Linked DNA regions of Homo sapiens: region 1 is linked to region 2. Evidence: promoter capture Hi-C in human tissues and cell types (Jung and others, 2019). All regions are on one chromosome and are shown on one strand. Each heading gives the region's core, a stretch centred on a gene start or on the middle of the fragment in contact. The rest is flanking DNA. Distances are from core to core; before and after follow the strand shown. Region 1 has its middle 13 kb from the start of LINC00159. Region 2 holds the start of SOD1 (superoxide dismutase 1).

Evidence for each region. Contacts are between HindIII fragments. The study calls those that stand out against the background at their distance.
Region 1: a fragment that was not itself captured here is called in contact with the fragment with the promoter of SOD1 in region 2 in 1 of the 25 tissues and cell types used here (lymphoblastoid cells).

What each region holds. Positions count from the first base shown.
Region 1 is chr21:32,097,936-32,101,108 of GRCh38, forward strand. No RefSeq gene overlaps it. Among named protein-coding and RNA genes, the nearest start is that of LINC00159, 13 kb to the left of the region's middle. The HindIII fragment of the contact is 3,760 bases long and covers 1-3,173 here.
Region 2 is chr21:31,658,084-31,660,970 of GRCh38, forward strand. It overlaps SOD1 (superoxide dismutase 1), which reads left to right and starts at 1,610. Exons shown (of 5, transcript NM_000454.5): 1 at 1,610-1,758. The coding sequence starts at 1,687. It overlaps SOD1-DT (SOD1 divergent transcript), which reads right to left and starts at 1,941. Exons shown (of 3, transcript NR_187558.1): 1 at 1,314-1,941; 2 at 1-12. RefSeq lists silencers at 1,223-1,542, 1,813-2,092 and an enhancer at 2,253-2,452. The HindIII fragment of the contact is 13,368 bases long and covers 1-2,887 here.

The DNA of each region.
Region 1 (3,173 bases), core at 597-3,096, 440 kb after region 2:
TAGAATGTTTATATCATATCCTCAATGCCAACTGCCCATGCATGTCTGTAGCAGTTCTCCATGATACAATGAGCTCTGGAGCCAAAATACTTAGGTTCGAATCTCAGCTTTACCACTTAGTGTGTGATCCTGAGCAAGTGAATTAAATTCTATGTCTGAGTTTTCTCTTCTGCAAATTGGAGACAATGATGCTTCCTGTCTACTAGGGTTGTTATTCTCGGTCTCTGACAAGCATGAAAGTTCGACTCGAACTAACCTCTTCTTGGTAACTTTATTCTTTACCTGTCTTCTCCGCATGACCAGAGATACCTCTGTAAAATGAGGTTGAGCAGGAATATCAAGCCTGCCACACAGCAAATACATAGTAAATGTTAGTCATCATCATAATCATTATCATCACTGTTATTTCAGCTATTAACAATCTTCACCAGATATGCTTGCTTTTCTAAGTCCCTTCCTCCCCATTATGCTATTGGTGGCTGTGACTTTTTTTTTCTTTTCTTTTCTTTTCTTTTTTTTTTTTTTTTGAGACAGAGTCTCACTGTGTCACCCAGGCTGGAGTGCAGCGGTGTGATCTCGGCTGACTGCAACCTCTGCCTCCAGGGTTCAAGCAATTCTCCTGCCTCAGCCTCCCAAGTAGCTGGGACTACAAGCACACGCCACCACTCCAGGCTAATTTTTCTATTGTTAGTAGAGATGGGGTTTCACCATATTGGCCAGGCTGGTCTCGAACTCCTGACCATGAGGTTTTGGTCGGCCTCCCAAAGTGCTGGGATTACAGGTGTGAGCCACTGTACCCGGCCTGTGCCTTGCCTTTCATTTGATCTTCTCCTGTGTCGTGTCCAGCCTCATGGTCTCCTGTCCCTCCCCTTCTGAACTGAAGCTTCCCCACCACAATTGAGTCCCTTGTGTATCTGGGATCTGGCGTTCATGCCCTCCTCTCTCTCTTCCCTCCTACACTCCCCCTCCACCACCCCAACCACAAGCCCACATATCTCTAGCTCTCAACCATCCTACCTTGGAGACATTACTTGCAGAGAATAGCCTGCAATGCTGTGAAGTTCCCTCCCAGGGAGAAAGAGGTCATCTTGAGAACTTATATCCCACAGCCCCCAGTCTCCCATGCTGGGACCTTCTCACCTCTTCTGTCCTGGCAAGCAGCCAAGTGTGGCTCAGAGGCTGAGCAGAGGGAAAGATGTTGGCCCTTTGCTCCTCAGCATCAGTGGGCTTAAGTGCGGGCACAATCCAGACCTGGAGTGTTTGCATTTGAAGGCTTAGTTCTACTCGAATGAAACTCTGGTTCAAGGCCTTCCAGGCCAATGAAAAATTCCAGCCAACTGAGACCAAGCAAATGTGGCTGTATCCACATATTCAGAGCCAGGCCTTGGGCAGGGCAGGTGACAAGGAGCATGTCATTTGGGGGAACCTAGCACTGAGTGAAATCATCACAGTTAATTCTTTACTAGCTGTGTCAGAATTTCGGCTCATTTTAATCTTGGTGTTCAATGAACACCCTGAGGTCTTCCTCATGAGTCCCCTGCATTCTGATGAAATTGCCTTTAGTGTCTTAGGAGGCCGTGTGGTTCAGAGCATGGGTGTGGAGTTGAGAGATGTCCATTCCACTCCAGGTTTCACCCTAAAAAGCAGTGTGAGGTGGAACGAGTTATTCTGAGGCTCAATTTTTTCATCTATAAAATGATCATTATTATTATCACCGTCACCATCATAATCATCAATTGCCCTGCCCCCTGCCTCACAGTCTTACTAGGGTTCAACAGGATAAGCTATGTAAAATGTTCGGCCCAGGGCCTGGGACCTGTTTTTCCTGCTTCTGCTGTTGTTATTGTTACTATTATTATTGTTTCAGGTCACCTGGCCCTCCAGGGCCTCTTTGTAACTCTTATAAAATGATCTCTGACACTCTGAGCCTGTTTTTATTTGGAATCTTAGGGGAAAAAAGCATTTGTGAGGTCCAGGATTTAATCTTGTTTGTCCTCGGGGCATGTGGCTATTAACAAGGGTTGTTTACGGAGGGTCTGTCCATCCTGCTGAGCTTGTGTGATCCTCACAGTGGCCCTGCAAGGTCAGCATTATTATTTCCATTTCATGAATGAAGAAGAGGCCCAGGGAGGTTGAAACACTTGCTCAAATTCACACATCCAGAAAGGAGCAGGATTGGAGTAGGAACCTGTGTCTGATTCATTTTGCAAACACTTTTCTAGCACTTTCTATGCTCCTAGCACTGTTTCAAGTACTTTTTAAATAAGAATTAATTGATGTCATCCTCTTAACAACCCTATGAGGTAGGTGCCGTGACTGCCCCCTTGTGTAGATGAGGAAACTAAGGCACAAAGAGGTTAAGCCACTTGCCCAAAGTCACACAGGTTTGCATGGCAGTGACAAATTCACTTCGGCAGCCTGGCCCCAGCTGCCCCTCAAGGCTGTTCTTTCCCATACACGTCACTGTCTCTCACAGGGGTCCCGCTTTTTCAGTGGGTACATAAGCCTGCCTTCCTGGCACAGACATAGACCCCCTTCCCTGGTCCCCTTCGAGCCTCTTAAAAGGGGAGCCGCTGTTCTGCATTCATCCTCCATGACCGTGGCCTCTTCTGCTTCCTCCTCAGAAGCCAGTGGGTTTGTTCTGCAAATTGCTAGTCAGAGGAGGCCAGGCATTGTTTAGGCTGCTGGTGGTGAGGGTCAGTGCCAGCTACTGGACCAGAGCCAGACCTGCCCCCGTGCCAAACCCACCGCAGGGAGGCCTGCTGCACCTCCTCCTGGGAGGTCTCCCTAGGGCATCACCTGAGAGCATGCAAAACAAAAGCCACACAACCAAACCATTTTTCCAAGGAGGGCCTGCTTGCCCAACACAGTAAAATCCAACTCCTATTGGCCTGTATTCCAGTAGATGCATTCAGTGTGTCCCTTGGCAAAATAATGTGGTAATTGCTGTAAGAGACTGCCCGCTGCCTTCCCCAGTGGATGCTCTATCCTTCACCAGTGCTCATGAGCATTTGTGGAGGGGTCCTCTTCCATGGCCAGCCAACAGCCCCACTTCTGCACCCTGGCTCATACCATTCAGAGTCTGCACCCTGGACTGACTTAGACTAGCAAAAGATTTTAATCAACTGGTTCCATCTCCCCAGCCCACACGGATATCTGGGGACTCCTAAAAA
Region 2 (2,887 bases), core at 360-2,859:
GTGACGACCATCCTACGAAGGCACCACCCAGGCATCATTAGACCGTCTCAAAAGAAGAGTAATTCACTGTCCCAAAGCAGCTCTCTCGTGTCTGTGGGCGGATCCCTTGGCAAGTTTACAATGAACTGAAATCTGCCGAACTTCCTGGAACCCAAAGAAACTTTAGCCTTGGGCAAAGGCCCTTTGGCCAGCATTTGCACTGTTTATGCAACCGTTTAGAATATACGAATTATCTGGAGACTACTACCAAATACAACAGGCAAAACTGCAAATATGTATACTTCCTAGAGGATGATAAAAAAATGTGAATTGTATTTCTCTGATAGAGGATGCATTAGAGTCTGAGGGTCTAAATAGCGTAAATAATAAATAAGTAAATAAATCGATAGTAGTGTACTCCAAACGAGGCTGGAATAGCTTCTATTGTTGTTTCACACTGGACTTCAATTAAGTCTCAGTATTTTGCCATACTCAATATTAAGTACTAGGCTGGACGTGGTGGCTCATGTCTGTAATCCCAGCACTTTGGGAGGCCGAGGTGGGTAGATGGCTGGCTTGAGCTCAGGAGTTTGAAACCAGCCTGGGCAACATGGTAAAACCCCATCTGTACCCAAAATACAAAAATCAGCCAGGTGTGGTGGCACATGCCTGTGGTCCCAGGTACTTGGGAGGCTGAGGCAGGAGGATGGCTTGAACCCAGGAGGTGGAGGCTGCAGTGAGCTATGATGGCGCCACTGCACTCCAGCCTGGGTGACAGAGCGAGACCCTGTCTCAAAAATCAAACAAACAACCCCCTCGCCCCGGACAAAAGTAGTTTGCACTATTTTCTCATTTCACAATATGTTTTTGAAATATTTCCCTTGAAAGGTAAGTCATATTTATCATTCCTGTTGTATGGAGGCATCATAAATTATTTCACCATTCTACCCTCCTTGAGTGTTGTGGCCTTTAGGCCAGACAAAAACGCAGGTGATGCCTAGAAGCCAACTAGTTGCCGTTTGGTTATCTGTAGGGTTGTGGCCTTGCCAAACAGGAAAAATATAAAAAGAATACCGAATTCTGCCAACCAAATAAGAAACTCTATACTAAGGACTAAGAAAATTGCAGGGGAAGAAAAGGTAAGTCCCGGGATTGAGGTGTAGCGACTTTCTATACCCTCAGAAAACTAAAAAACAAGACAAAAAAATGAAAACTACAAAAGCATCCATCTTGGGGCGTCCCAATTGCTGAGTAACAAATGAGACGCTGTGGCCAAACTCAGTCATAACTAATGACATTTCTAGACAAAGTGACTTCAGATTTTCAAAGCGTACCCTGTTTACATCATTTTGCCAATTTCGCGTACTGCAACCGGCGGGCCACGCCCCCGTGAAAAGAAGGTTGTTTTCTCCACATTTCGGGGTTCTGGACGTTTCCCGGCTGCGGGGCGGGGGGAGTCTCCGGCGCACGCGGCCCCTTGGCCCCGCCCCCAGTCATTCCCGGCCACTCGCGACCCGAGGCTGCCGCAGGGGGCGGGCTGAGCGCGTGCGAGGCGATTGGTTTGGGGCCAGAGTGGGCGAGGCGCGGAGGTCTGGCCTATAAAGTAGTCGCGGAGACGGGGTGCTGGTTTGCGTCGTAGTCTCCTGCAGCGTCTGGGGTTTCCGTTGCAGTCCTCGGAACCAGGACCTCGGCGTGGCCTAGCGAGTTATGGCGACGAAGGCCGTGTGCGTGCTGAAGGGCGACGGCCCAGTGCAGGGCATCATCAATTTCGAGCAGAAGGCAAGGGCTGGGACGGAGGCTTGTTTGCGAGGCCGCTCCCACCCGCTCGTCCCCCCGCGCACCTTTGCTAGGAGCGGGTCGCCCGCCAGGCCTCGGGGCCGCCCTGGTCCAGCGCCCGGTCCCGGCCCGTGCCGCCCGGTCGGTGCCTTCGCCCCCAGCGGTGCGGTGCCCAAGTGCTGAGTCACCGGGCGGGCCCGGGCGCGGGGCGTGGGACCGAGGCCGCCGCGGGGCTGGGCCTGCGCGTGGCGGGAGCGCGGGGAGGGATTGCCGCGGGCCGGGGAGGGGCGGGGGCGGGCGTGCTGCCCTCTGTGGTCCTTGGGCCGCCGCCGCGGGTCTGTCGTGGTGCCTGGAGCGGCTGTGCTCGTCCCTTGCTTGGCCGTGTTCTCGTTCCTGAGGGTCCCGCGGACACCGAGTGGCGCAGTGCCAGGCCCAGCCCGGGGATGGCGACTGCGCCTGGGCCCGCCTGGTGTCTTCGCATCCCTCTCCGCTTTCCGGCTTCAGCGCTCTAGGTCAGGGAGTCTTCGCTTTTGTACAGCTCTAAGGCTAGGAATGGTTTTTATATTTTTAAAAGGCTTTGGAAAACAAAAATACGCAACAGAGACCGTTTGTGTGACACTTTGCAGGGAAGTTTGCTGGCCTCTGTTCTAGGTCATGATTGGGCTGCAAGGGCAGAGAAGGTAGCCTTGAACAGAGGTCCTTTTCCTCCTCCTAAGCTCCGGGAGCCAGAGGTTTAACTGACCCTTTTGGGGATTTTTGAGGGCAGTGATCTTAACTTTGGGTGCACAGTTAGCTTATTTGAAGATCTTACTAAAAATACACCAGAGCCCAACCTCCGACCAATTACATCAAAACCTGTCCTAGTGCAGGGTGAGTATTGCTGTTTTTTGAAAGTTTCCAAAAGTGATTTTGATGTGCACCTACGATTGAGAACTGTCGTTTGAGGACAGTGGGTGGAGTTTCGTATTTGGAAATTAGAAGACCTGGAGTTTCCATTACACCGAATTGGCACTTAATAACTGTTGTCGGAGCATTTCTTAAGCCACATTTTCGTAAAGTGGCTTTAAAATTGCTCTGCCAGTAGGCAGGTTGCTAAGATGGTCAGAGACAAACTTCTGAACGACTCTTGTAA